2 separate regions of the Homo sapiens genome follow, and region 2 is linked to region 1. Evidence: promoter capture Hi-C in 16 types of primary human blood cells and fetal thymus (Javierre and others, 2016). All regions are on one chromosome and are shown on one strand. The core of a region is centred on a gene start or on the middle of the fragment in contact, and the rest is flanking DNA. Distances in the headings are between cores, read along the strand shown.

Region 1 (7,185 bases), core at 2,274-4,773:
GGATGTCTAATAGTCACTGCTGACATATAATGACCAGAAGTAAGCTTATGATATTCCCTTCAGACCTGTTCATCTCATTATCCTCCCCATCCGGGTTACTGGCAATTCCATTCTACCTGTTCATCACAGTCTCTCCGGACCTCCAACCACTGCTACCCCATGGTCATCTTCCATGAGGAATATTGTAATAGTCTCCTGTTTCCTTGTTTCTGCCCTCGTCCTCACTATAGTCTATTATCTAAACAGCCGTCAGAGTAATCCCATTGAAGGATAAATCAAATCATGTCACTCCTCTTTTCCAATCCCCTCATGGCTTCCCATCTCAAAGTAAAAGCTGAAGTCCTTAAGGTAGTCTAAAGTCCCTCGCCACAGGCACCGTCCCCCTTCCCTCTGACTTCACCTCCACTATTCTCCCTCTCTGCTCCAGCCACACTGGCCTCCTTGCTGCTCCTAGGACATCCAGGCACCATCTTTCTACCCAGTGTTCTCTCTGCCTGGAACACTTGCTAGCCTGATAGATCCTTAGGGCTCCCCCCTCAAGCCTGCAAGTCTTCACCCCAGTGTCATTTTCTCAGTGAAGCCTTCCCTGATCACCATTTCTAAAATCTGCAGTCCAGGCCGGGTATGGTGGCTCATGCCTGTAATCCCAGTACTTTGGGAGGCCGAGGCTGGAGGACTGCTTGAGCCCAGGAGTTTGAGACCAGCCTGGGCAACACAGCAAGACCCTGTATTAAAAATAAATTAGCCAGGCAGGCTGGGGTGTGCTTGTCGTCTCAGCTACTCAGGAGGCTGAGGTGGAGGGATCGCTTGACTCCAGGAGTTCAAGGCTGCACTGAGCCATGATTGTGCCACTACACTCCAGCCTGGGTGACAGAGTGAGACCCTGACTCTAAAAAACAAAACAAAACAAAACAAAAATTAAATCACAGCTCCCTCCCCACTTGCCACACACACACACACACACACACTCTCACACACTTACTCACTTTCCTCTTCTCCCTCCCCATGTTCGGTTTCTTCCTTATCACTAACCACTATCTAACTTATTACATAGTTTACTTGTTTATCTAGTTCATCATCAATTCCTGACTAGGATGCAAACTCCACAAAGGCCGGGCTTTCGTCTGCTTTGTGGACCACGTTCAGCACCTGAGCCTCTCTCATTCACACCCAGGCACCAGCTCAGTCGCCCTAGTACTTTGGGTGAAGAGGAAGGAATATGGGCATCAGTGGTTCTTTTGTTCAGCCAAAGAGCACCCGGCACCATCGGTCTGCTCTTGAGCCTGGCAAGTGCATTTTTTTTTGGGAGCTACCCCACCATGGAATGCCAAGGAGTCCAGGGCAGGACACCATTCCTATCAGCAAACACTAGAACAGGGTAGACGCTGTGTGCCTCTGGTGTTTATCACGTGCTGCCTCTAATAAATGCTATTCACAACCACCACTAGACCAGGTCCCGTGCACCCTGACCCATTTTAACAAACGTACCCATTGAATACAGTGAAGCTGGGGAAGCCCAGCCCAGGAGCATTGCCTCACTGGGTCAGTCCCACTGCTGGGCTAGGACACCTGTGGTCCCTTCTTCTCACCCTGGAGCTGTGTCTGTGTGAGGGGCTTGCCCCTAAGCCAGCCCACCTGGCACCATGAGGCCCCTGCCTTATACAACGGTAAGTTCTCCCATAGCAGCTAAGCTAATTCTGGCTACCTACTGATTTGAAAAGGTTTTTAGAAAGAAATTTGCATTTTCCCAGAAACATCAGCTCTACATTATCCAAATAAACAACAAAGCTAGAACACAGGGGGCAAAGGATTATGAAAGGGACGGGTTTTAAACAAGGATCAAGGAATAGCAAATAATGACATCGGCAAACACTTCTATGATTCTGCTATGGTCTGAGTGTGTCTCCTGAAAATTCATGTTGAAATCCTAACCCCCAAGATGACGATATTAGCAGGTGTGGACTTTGGAGGTGACTAGGTCATGAAAGTGGAGCCCTATAAATGGGATTAGTGCCCTTCTAAAAGCAGGGTGGGAGCGGGTGTGGGGGACGTGGGGGAAAACTCCCTTGCCCGTTGCACCATGTGGAGACACAGCCAGGAGGTACTGTCTGTGCAGAAGGGACCCTCATCAGACCTGGAATCTGCCAGTGGGCTTCCCAGCCTCCAGAACTGGGAGAAACAAATTCCTGTTGCTTATAAGCCACCCAGCCTATGTTGTTTTGTTACAGCAGCCCGAGGGGACTAAGACGGGTACTGTGTCCTAGATTAGCTCATTTAATATTCACTATGATCTATGAAGCAGGCACTACTCTTCATCATTCATGAACGATTATTTCCCGCTGAGAAAACTGAGGCACAGAGCAGTCAGTCGCCTAACTCACGGCCCCTGTGAGAGGGTCGCCAAGATTCTGGAATCCGGGCAGTCTGGCTCCAGAGTCCGTGCTCTTAGTGTCCAGCTATACACTTGAAGAAGTGAAAACTGCAGCTCTTTTCGGACAGTGATCCCCTCGAAAAACAAACAAAAAACTGAAGCCCAGCGGCTGGAGCAAGGGGCCTGGAAAGGCGTTGAGCGAGGGCCGGGGCGCGAGGGCTCCGGGGCGGGCCGGCGGGGACTGCCTCTCCCGCTGGTCACCTGGGGTTGAACTGGAATTGTTCAATAGAGGCCTCGAGGCCCTCCATGATCTTCCGGCCCTCCTCTGTCTCAGGCGAGTCGCCCCAGTTCGCCATTGCAGCCCCGGACGTGCGCCTCCCGCGGAGCCGCTCGCTCTCCTGAGTCGGAGTCGGGAACCCGGCGTCCGTTGCCATGGCGACTCCCAGGTAACCGGCGAAGCGCGGGAATCCGTGGGCGGGGGCCGGGGAGGGCCGCGAGTGGAGGGGGGTGGGGAACGGGGTGGGGAGGGGAAGGGGGAAGGAGATGGGGAGGAGGGGGATAGGGAGAAGGTTGGGGATGGGGGGGAAGGGGAGAGGGAAAGGAAGTAGAGGAGGTGTGGAGGGAAGGAAGAGGGGGAAGGAGTGGGGGAAGGGGGAAGAGATGGAAAGGAGGATGGGGAGGGAGCACGCGCGGGAGGAGGGGAGTGGAGAGGGGGAGGAGGAGGCGGGGCGGGCTCCCAAGCCACCCCGCTGCGCTTTCACTGTCCCGCCTGCCTCAAGGCTTCCCCACAAGACTCCCACAGCCTGGAGGCTGCTGCGATACCCCAGAGGAAAGCTGCACCCCCGTAAATAACCCTTCAGCCTCCCGCCGTGCCCCTGGACCCTGCTCGCTTCCTCCTCTACCCAGGCGCGGAGCTCAGCCTACCTCGTGGACCCGCGCATTTGCGGGGGCTTGAATTCCCGAGCTTCTCGCTTCCTACGCGCGCAGCAGACCCGCAGCTCGGTGGCCTTGGCTTTCATGGCCTCCCAGCGTGTGCCAAAGGTCCCCCTCAAGGAGGAGGAAAAGCAGTGAACCCATCTAATAACTATGCTCATGACATAATGAGCCCTGCGATCCCGGACCAAGGCCATCATAAGAGGAGAGCAGGCTGCCTAATAAGCTGTCTCCACCTGCCACAAACGTAGGCGTTCCTGGACAAAATATTTCCTTGCAGAGATTAAACAGATTTCTATTTAATGAGGTCAGAATGTGAGGCGTTAAGTCTTAAACTATACCATCTAGTGTGGAATTCAATTTTACCAGGTTTCTACAATAATAAGAGTTAATAGTGAAACTGTTGTCATCCTTAGTTTTAAATTATGTATCACTCATTGTCAACTAATAGGAGACACCTATTCTAATATCAGTATGTCATTGTTTTTCTGTAAACGACTGGCTAAATTTATTTTTAAAATGTCATTGTCTGGTTTAGAACTGTCTATACTACATCTGCATTTCAATATATTATCTACAGAAAAATAAGTTTTTTCTCCTCTCTCTTATTATTATTATTATTATTTTTTGGAGCCGGAGTCTCGCTCTGTCGCCCAGGCTGGGGTGCAGTGGCGCGATCTGGGCTCACTGCAACCTCCGCCTCCCGGGTTCAAGCAATTCTCCTGCTTCAGCCTCCCGAGCAGCTGGGACTACAGGCACACAGCACCAAGCCAGGCTAATTTTTTGTATTTTTAGTAGAGACGGGGTTTCACCGCGTTGTGCAGGCTAGTCTAACTCCTGAGCTCAGGCAATCTGCCCCCCTCGGCCTCCCAAAGTGCTAGATAACAGGCGTGAGCCACAGAGCCCGGCCTCTTCTCTGTCTTGTAACAGTAAGTGAAAATAACTTAGCTGGATTTAGAAGCTCAAAACAGGAAAAGAAAAGCACTGTAGCATTATCACTACTATTATGTTTAAAGACAAAGATTAAAAGCCCCAAATGCCAATAAAACATCATAACCAATGCCAAAATCATCTTCTGTGAAGGCTTATTTTTTGGGGGGGAGATGAAGAGAGAAGAGAAAAAGAGTTACTTTTACTCTTTGGAGGTTTTTAATTACAAACTCTAACTTCAGACTTTATTTGGGGAATTTTTATTATATAATCAAAAGGTATTTTAAAAGAAAGAAATTTATATATCTACAATAACTTTTCTTTTTCCTAAGTGATATTTTACCACAATGTATATACATGTTTTAAAATAAAGATTAAAATTTTAAGTTAAAATTTCAAAACCTATCTGTTTAGAGCTGGGCCAAGACAGTGTAAAGAATGTGACAAGCTGTTGGCTATTTTCCTAGTGCAATTATAAATGAATCGTTTGAAACTGAGGAGAGAGATCGCACAGAAGATTTCATGAGTCATTGGTCAGCTCTGTACAGCATTTGTTGACTGATATAGTCTGCATAGTTACGCCATCCCACAAAAACATGCATTGAACAGAACATCTTTGTTTGAAACCTTGCTATAGCATATCAAGGAGTTTCAGATTTCAGTGTCTAAGAGACCACGCTATGATGATGATTGTTTTTGAAACCGTTAACTACATAATACTTCTCTTCTTGTCAGTTACCTGTATTTTATCTCACAGGTGTTCCGGCTTATAAAATTGTTTATTTCAGATCAGATTCTCACCTGTAGTAACTGGCGTTGATGTGGTCAAAACATTTGTCATATTAAATCCAGGCCTCTTTTATCACATGCTAAATTCATTGATGGCTTTAGTGGAAAGCTCATGAACTCTGCAGTAAATATTAAATATATACAGGCTTTGAAACTTACTCGATTTAGAATTTTGGGCAAGTAAGTTAACATTTCAGAGCCTCTATTTTCTCACAAGTAAAAACTGGATAATGAATGTTTCTCAAAGTTGGGGTAATCTATAAAGCAGAAAAACACGCAGCACATGCATGAGGCAACTGCAAGAGAAATACCAACTAGGCCTTTGAAGGACTCTATTCCTTCTTCCTAAACCACTACTAGGGAAAACATTGTTTAAAGATGTCAGTGTTTTGGCTGGATTCGGTGGCTCATGCCTGTAATCCCAACACTTTGGGAGGCGGAGGCAGGCAGATCACTTGAGGTCAGAAGTTTAAGACCAGCCTGGCTAACATGGTGAAACCCTGTCTCTACTAAAAATACAAAAATTACCTGTGCATGGTAATGCACGCCTGTAATCCCAGCTACTTGGGAGACTGAGGCATGAGAATCACCTGATCCCGGGAGGCAGAGGTTGCAGTGAGCCGAGACTGCACCACTGCACTCCAGCCTGGGCGACAGAGTGAGACCCTGTCTCAAAATAAATAAATAAATAAAGATTTCAATTTTAAAAAATTGAACATTTCATAAGTTAACATTGTTTTTACTTGTTCAGTTAATAGGACTTCAGGCACAATTTTAAAATTTGAAGTGCTTCTCTGACATACCACAGGTATAAATAGAATATGTATTTATATAAAAATATCGCCTACCAGTTATTAAAAGTGATAACATCTCAGATTAACTAGCATGAGAATTTGATTAAGAGTCAAGTGCTGACTCTAAACATAGTAATTTATGTATTCCAGTTGGGTAGTATCAGTTCTATAGTCTAATAAGAGCCAAGAGGTTTCAGTTTAGGTTTGTAATTTAAATTCTTTCTAGAGCGTCATCACATGCGAAGTGCTTATTTTTCTTTTATCACCAGCTATAATATATGATTATGTGGTGGAGGCTCTGTTATGTAAACTTGTTTTATGTCATGCTTCATCCACAACCAAAGTTCTTAAATAAAGTCTTTGGAAGGACATAGTAAGGCTCTTAGCCAGGGCAATATAATGCTACTAAATCCTTTATGGCAAAACTCCTGAGACTAGATCATTTTAATGTCTTAAATTTTGCTGCTGTGAGACAGCATATCCACTCTGTGAAAGTCTATCAATAAGCATTTGTCAGCCGACTAAAGCTGAAAACCAAGATGACAAGCCCAGTAGGGGGTTTGGGGCAGGCGCAACTGTGGATGTGGAATTTGGATCCTTGCCGCCAAATGTCCTTGAGCACTGGAGTAAAGGATTTCCTCTATTTGGAGCTAAGTTTAGATCATCACTGTTTAAAAGAGAGCAGGCCCGCGTGTGGCTCACGCCTGTAATCCCAGCACTTTGGAAGGCCAAGGTGGGCGGAGCCCAGAAGCTAGAGGCCAGCTTGGGCAACATTGAGACTCTGTCTCTACAAAAAATTAAAAAGAGAGAAAGAAATAGTAGTGAACGTGAAGAAAATGGCAGGGGTGGGTTGGGCCTGTAATCCCAGCACTTTGGGAAGCCAAGGTGAGGATTGCTTGAGCTCAGGAGTTCAAGACTAGACTGGGCAACATAGGGAGACCCCATCTCTGCCAAAAAAAAAAAAAAAATTTTTTTTTCAAATTAGCCAAGAACCCAGAGTCCCAGCTACCCAAGAGGGTGCAGCAGGGGGATCACGTGAGCTTGGGAAGTCAAGGATAGAGTGAGCTGTGTTCGTGCCATCATATTGTAGCCTAGATGACAGAGCAAGAGTCCATCTCAAATAAATAAATAAATACATAAATAAATGGTAGGGCTTAGCTGTCTGCAGAAGTGAGCCCACCTGAGAGAGAATTTGTAAACTTACTGCTGAGGGAAGTTTGGGCGATCTCCAGTCTGTTCAAATGACCAGAGTGGATCCTAGTGCCTAGAACATAACCTAGGAAAACTGTCACCCACATATTGGAATTTAGGGTGAGGCGGTTCAGGACAAGTCAAAGTCTGGAGAGTAATACAAGGGCAGTCACCATA
Region 2 (6,902 bases), core at 4,104-6,603, 860 kb after region 1:
AAGTGCGACAAATGTTCAAAAATCTACGGCTTCTCTGATCAATGTCAACATCCTTGGCCTCCACCACTGGCAAACTGGGGCTTAATAGTTTTTTGAAAAACTGAAGGTGTGAGTGAGTAACGAGATGGATGAATTGATCATCTTTGGCCTAAAGCAGTACTCTCCGAACTACTAGGCCTTAGGAGGCAATGTTCAGTATTACATGAACAAGCCAGGTGTGGTGGCTCACGCCTGCAATCCCAGCACTATGGGAGGCTGAGGTGGAAAGACCAGGTGAGGCAAGGAATTCAAGACCAGTTTGGGCAATATAGTGAGAACCCATTTCTATAAAAAATTTGTAGAAAATTAGCCAGACATGGTGGTGTGCACCTGTAGTCCCAGATACTCAGGAGGCTGAGTTGGGAGGACCACTTGAGCCCAGGAGTTTGGAGGAGTTTGGGGCTGCAGTGAGCTGTGATTGCACCACTGCACCCCAGCCTGGGTGACAGAGAAAGACCCTTTCTCAAAATAGAAAAGAATTAAATAAACAAAACATTTTACATTTTAATAGTTATATATTTACTATACAGGATGTAAGAAAATATGCAACTGTTTTATCAAACCCAGAATCTAACAATAATATAGATGAGAGGAAGCTTAATATTTTAAGCAAGTCAGTATAAAGTTAATACTAATATAAATGGTAAGAATTTGACCCAATTACCTCTTAAAGACCCCACCTTTCCACATTGCCACACATTAGTGATTAAGTTTCAACATGAGCTGTGGCGGGGACAGACATTCAAACTATAGCCGAAGAGAAATTGTTGAAGTTTGGGAAACAAAGTAATTTTCACTGTTTCCTTTTCTTCAGGTTTTATTCTTTCCCCAAATTCAGCCTACAGTTGACTGTTTTATGTGCAACCAATGGCAATTTTTAACTATGGAATTGAAACCTTTGAAAAGATAAGACAAAGCTGTGTGTGTATGTGTCTGTTTTTAAAGATGAATCAAACTGTGTTTATTATTTATTTTATTTCATAAGTGATTCTGTAAACTGACCACGTGAATGTCCTGATTTTCATAGATTATGACTGGCTCAGGTGACAAGAAATAGACATACTAATAACCTAAGAACCTTGGGTTATTATTTATATTTGGAAGTAAGGAAAAACAGGAAATGGCTTTCCCAAGCCTCCTGAGCAGCATTTAGGAGACATTTTATATATTTTTATTTATATATTTATATACATATTTTAGGATAACATTTAGGATACAGCAGTAGTGGCATCAGGCTGACAGAAACTCTGGGAAACCCACAGTACACTGTCCTTCCCCCCCATGCACCCCTGCCCAGGCTTCAATGTCTCCACTCCTGCTTCCTTCTCTACCTCCTGCTGCTACGCGGTCTGCTCTGCTGATCTCTCTCTTTCTCCTTTTCTCTCTTTCTTTGGTTTGTGTTGCCTCATGGCTTTTGGTTGCTGTCACTTTTTTCATTATTTTTTAATTTTTTTTTTTTTTTAAGAGATGGGGCCTCGCTGTTTCCTAGGCTAGAGTGCAGTGGAGCTATCAGCTCACTGCACTCTCAAACTCCCGGGCTTCCGGCTAATTTTCTGAAAATATTTTTGTAAAGATGAGGTCTCGCTGTGTTGCCTGGGCTGGCCTCAAACTTCTGGGCTGAAGTGATCCTCCCACCTCAGCCTCCCATGTAGCTAAGACTACAGACAAGAGTCACCAAGCCACCATGCCACTGAGCCACTGTGCCACTGCACCACCTGGCTATGCTTGCTGTCTTTGTGCACCTCAGCTTTCGCCTGCCATACTGCCTGCATCTGGGGTGACCAACTCAACCCAGTTTTCCTGGGACTTTTCCAGTTTCAGCACCAGGCCACACCCAAAGTCATAGGTGAACTGGGATGTTTGGTGACGCCACCTGTATCCCTTCGCTATATATTTCATATTCGAATTCTGTAAAGGAGAAGAGGGGAAATCTGACTGGATCTCTTTGTCCCTTGTCCAACCCGGGGAGCATCTGAGCTCTTCCAGCTGAGCCTACTGATTGCACCAGTCAAGCTTGGGGGTGATGAAAGGAAGCATCCCCAGCTGCCTTTCTCAGAAGGGGCCTGTGAGCAGAGTGAGCCTGGGAATATCATCAGGTCCTGTAGTCCATTTTCCACACCAGTTTGTATCAGTGCTGCTGCTGAACATGTTGGGTGAAGGTATGTGCAGATGAGAGGTGGCAGTAGGGGGCAAGCAGAAACAATTTTAAAAATCATTGCAGCAGCTGGGTGCCATGGCTCACACCTGTAATTCTGGCACTTTAGGGGGCTGAGGTGGGTAGATCACCTGAGGTCAGGCGTTCGAGACCAGTCTGGCCAACATGGTGAAACCCTGTCTCTACCAAAAATACAAAAATTAGCCAGACGTGGCGGCACGCACCTGTAATCCCAGCTACCACGGAGGATGAGGCAGGAGAATTGCTTGAACCCAGGAGGCGGAGGTTGCAGTGAGCCAAGTTCCCAAGACTGTGCTCCAGCTTGGGTGACAGAGCAAAACTCCATCTCAAAAAACAAAAAAATTCGTTGCACCTTTTTTACTTTTATGAACTCAAGCGTTACACAAATTAGGCTCCTAATATAGTGTTATGGAAACCCTGGCCCAACCAGTCATTAAATATTTTATCCCACTCAATATTGTCCAGTTCAGAGATTGTAAATTTTGCAAAAGGGAGTGTTTACAAAGCAAAACGATGTCATCTGGGAAATGAAGAATGTTAAGCTCTAGCAGCCCTGGGGAGAAACACAAAATGCACTTCGGCTTAGGGCAGAGAAGCTTAGCCATCAATACTTTGTAAATCCTGGAGGGCTTCCTCTACCTCCTGCATGCCAGCACCCCCTCTACCCACTTGGCTCCAGAAATTAGTCCTTCTGTATTAAAACTGTTTTTCCATCTGCAAGGAACAGAAGTCCCCACCCTGCCCTACCCCGCCTCTGCTTCCGCCCCACCTTCAATTCTGTGGACTGAGGTGGGGAGAGAAAAATAAAATCACTGTAAAAATACTTAACTTCTGAAGCACGTGACTGGCTTTCAAGAATTCTATAAACTCGAGGGTGAGGCACTTGAAGAAGTTGGAGGCATGGCTCAGGGCAAAGCAGGGGCTACAGTGAGCCCTTTGAGTCTCTGGACACCCCTCTCGAGCGCCCCCAACCTCCTGATCACCCCTGATCCTCCTATCCAGCACCCCATTCCCAATTCTTCCTGGTGTTCTGAGACCCCCGAGGGAGTGCAGGCTGCACGCAGGCAGGCGGCCCAGCCCCGGGTGCTGGGTGACCCCCTCAGCTCCAGGTGTGGCTGCAGGACTGTCAGCCTCCCGGGGGTGACATGGAAAGGTGAATGTATTTGCACTGCGCCTTTCATTCTGTAACATCTGTGTCTCTGTTTCTCTTAAAGCCTATGGCCATCACTCAACCGGAGGCTGAGAACTGATGAAAAAGTGGAACAAAAACAAAATAAAACTAGCTGCGTTGTTGAAACAAAGTCAATTTCAGTGTTTATTTGGCAGAGAAGCCAGTAGAGGTGATCAAAGTGATCAGGGCAATTCACTTGTTTCGCTGGCCCTGGGAGGGAAGGTGAGGAGCTCTGAATTCCAAAGGTAGGGGGAGAGGAGAGCAAAGCTCAGGGGAGAGAGCGGTCAGGAAACTCCCTGGGCACAGGCAATCCCTGCCAGGACTCCAAGACACCAGTCACAGGCTTCTCCTTCTCCTGCATCAGGGTGACCTGCAGGGCCCTGTTCTCGGAGCCTCCACCCTCCACCCTGGGCTGCACCACGGCCCCCAAGCCTTCATGAGCACCGTTGCCCAAAGGCTGTGCTCTGGTTGCACCCTTGCTCCCAAGCTCCCCTCACAGGCGCTTTCCCCTATCCTAGCAGCTCCACGTCTCCTCTGCTCTGAGGGTGGTTTCCATCTTTGGCCTCATCCTCCTGGAAGCCCTGCCCCCCAGGGAGGTCCCTGGCATCACAGTCTTAGCTTACAGACTAGAGGTCTCAGTGACTAGAGCAGGCGCCCAGCTGCAGGGAGACTTTGATAAATATCTATGGCCGAACTGCATGATGCCTTAGGGCTCTTACAGCAATGCCCCCCAAATAATACCAGACCCAATTCTATAGTTGAAAGAAGAGGAATTTTAGAAAATAGGTATACCGGGCCAGGGGCAGTGGCTCATGACAGTAATCTCAACACTTTGTGAGGCCAGGGCTGGAGGATTGTTTGAGCCCAGGAGTTCAAGACCAGCCTGAGCAACATAGTGAGACCTAATGTCTACAAAAAAATATAAAATTAGCCAGGCATGGTGGAGTGTGCCTGTAGTCCCAGCTACTTGGGAGGCTGAGGGTAGAGGATTGATTGAGCCCAAGAAGTTGAAGCAGTGAGCTGTGATCATACCACTGCAATCTAGCCTGGGTGGTGGAGTAAAAACTTGTCAAAAAAAAAAAAAAGAAAGAAGAAGAAGAGAGATACCTCCCCTTTTATTCTTCATTTCCATCTAGCAAAATAATAAAAATAATATTGATGATTGAGGGGTCGCCTTGGACAATTGCCTTGGACTTCAGTAGTGAAAAAAGAGGATAAAAGATCCTAAGGTATTCATCAAGTATAACAGAGCAAAGGCTGAACAGGACCCTGGAGACGAGAAAGATGGGAGAGATGAGAGCCACACGTTCGAGAATGCTCCAGGAGTCAGTTTGTTCAGCAGCAAAGTTGGGGGATGTTGGTGGGGGAAACAGGGAGAAGTGTACTCCATGATCCTAGTTTTGGCAACTTGATTGGTTCCCCTTCCTTCTTGCTCCCCCTACCCCCCAACCCCCACCTCCACAGGTCACTGCAGCTTTGAGAAATGGCAGAGGAGAAGCTCAAGGGCAGAAAATAAGCCAGGAGAGTCTCTTTCCCCCAAATACTCTATTGAAAGGGTTGATAATGAGGCACTGTGGGTAAAGCAAGGTAGCAACCCAGGTGCTTGTATCTGTAGAAGCTCTCATATTCTCGTGGATTCCACCCTGGCCCTTCAGGAACTCTGGGAAATATGCCATGGTTTTGCTCCCTCTGGGATAAAAGGGGTGAGCAGATACATGTTACACTTTTCACTTATAAGTTGCCACCTGGAATCCAGACTTTGTCTGCAGTGACCAGAGGGCAGAGCTGAGCGGGGCTTTCAAGACGGTATGCTGCACAGATGCCAGCTCTGGCCACAGTGCTGTGCACACGGGGTCTTTGCTGCCCAGCATCTATCTTCCAACTTAAAATAGATAAAAGAAACCATAATAAAAACCAACATCAATGGGTTCTCTTAAAAAGAAAGCAAATATGCTTAAAGTATTAACACATTGGATCTATGTGTAGTTTCACATCATATGACCACATGAGGAATTTGTGTGGAGTAGCAGGAGAGTTCCAAGACATTTCATAGGGAGATTTGAGTGTTGGTGGGTGGCGAGGGGCTCCTGGGCACCTCACTTATTGTCTGGCAGGATCTCCTTGGAGCCACTGGAATTTTAAGGACTTTAAGTAAGGGAAGATTGGTTACCCTCTGGAGAGAATGCTGGAGGTTACCTGGTGAAATTGTTGCTCTTAACGCAGAAGGGAAAATTCTGTTTTGATCTATGAGTCATATAGAAATGTATTATACTATGGAATCTGCGAAATTGTTTGTTAGTGGGGCTTGTAATACGGTCCGTGTGAGGCTCACACCTTTGCTCTAATTATTGTTTAAGATTAATTATTTTTTAATTATTGTTTCAGATTCTTTTATAGGGTCTTTGTTGGGAAACTCAAACAGTATCATTATGTTCCCCTCACATTTGGAAACCTAAGGCGCCCAGAGGGCTTATCTTGGGATCACACATAGGTGGCCATCTGTGCTGGTTTGCCAGGGACAGTCGTGGTGTCTTATTGTCCAGTTGTAATTATTAATAGTGTCTACTTTCCCTCTCACAAATGCTGGTTTATACTAAGTATAAGGTCACCCTAACCACCTGACACATTGCTGTCAAAACTAGGATTGGAGAGCCCACATTTCACATGCGCCAGATCATCCATTTAAGCAAATGTTATCCCAGTTGTTAAAAATCCTTTATTTCTGACTTACAGGGCCTCATACCATAGCAGCCTGTCTTTTAGAAACAGTTAATGTGGAACACATCAAACACGAGGCCTCTGGTTGAAACACTTTTGTTGACTTCTTTGTTTTTCACTTTGTTTTAATTGACTCTCACAGTTATGAATGCCTTTGAAAAGTACATTTTAAGGACTTCAGCAAGCATTAATTATTTCTTTTGTGTCCTGATGTCAAGTCATTTTCAACTATCTGGTTCTTAATAGGATTTAAAGTGAAAAAATATTAAATATGTATCAGGGCAATTCCACTTACTCTTGGTTCTTGCAATGATTTCTCTGTTGAAAAACTTACATAGGCCAGGCACAGTGGCTCACGCCTGTAATCCCAGCGTGATTACTTTGGGAAGCCAAGGTGGGCGAATTACCTGCGGTCAGGAGTTCGAGACCAGCCTGGCCAATGTGGTGAAACCCCGTCTCTACTAAAAATACAAAAAAAAAAAAAAAAAAAAAAAAAAGCCAGGCGTGGTGGCACATGCCTGTAATCCCAGCTACTCAGGATGCTGAAGCGGGACAATTGCTTGAACCCTCGAGGCAGAGGTTGCAGTGAGCCGAGATCGCGCCATTGCACTCCAGCCTGGGCGACAAGAGCAAAACTCCGTCTCAAAAAAAAGGAAAAAATGCCGGGCGCGGTGGCTCATGCTTGTAGTCCCAGCACTTTGGGAGCCCGAGGCAGGCAGATCACAAAGTCAGGAGATCGAGACCATTCTGACTAACACGGTGAAACCCCATCTCTACTAAAAATACAAAAAGTTAGCT

Evidence for each region. Contacts are between HindIII fragments. The CHiCAGO score rates a contact against its expected background, and 5 or more counts as called.
Region 2: a contact is called between a fragment that was not itself captured here and the fragment with the promoter of C10orf67 in region 1, in 1 of 17 cell types (neutrophils). The highest score is 7.0, in neutrophils.

Annotation. Positions count from the first base shown.
Region 1 is chr10:23,341,274-23,348,458 of GRCh38, forward strand. It overlaps C10orf67 (chromosome 10 open reading frame 67), which reads right to left and starts at 3,524. Exons shown (of 16, transcript NM_001371909.1): 1 at 3,296-3,524. The coding sequence starts at 3,501. It overlaps C10orf67-AS1 (C10orf67 antisense RNA 1), which reads left to right and starts at 2,684. Exons shown (of 2, transcript NR_155752.1): 1 at 2,684-2,817; 2 at 3,151-3,888. RefSeq lists a silencer at 4,647-4,941. The HindIII fragment of the contact is 9,174 bases long and covers 43-7,185 here.
Region 2 is chr10:24,198,728-24,205,629 of GRCh38, forward strand. It overlaps a transcript of KIAA1217 not described here. Among named protein-coding and RNA genes, the nearest start is that of KIAA1217, 7.0 kb to the right of the region's middle. RefSeq lists an enhancer at 3,515-4,280. The HindIII fragment of the contact is 5,088 bases long and covers 2,810-6,902 here.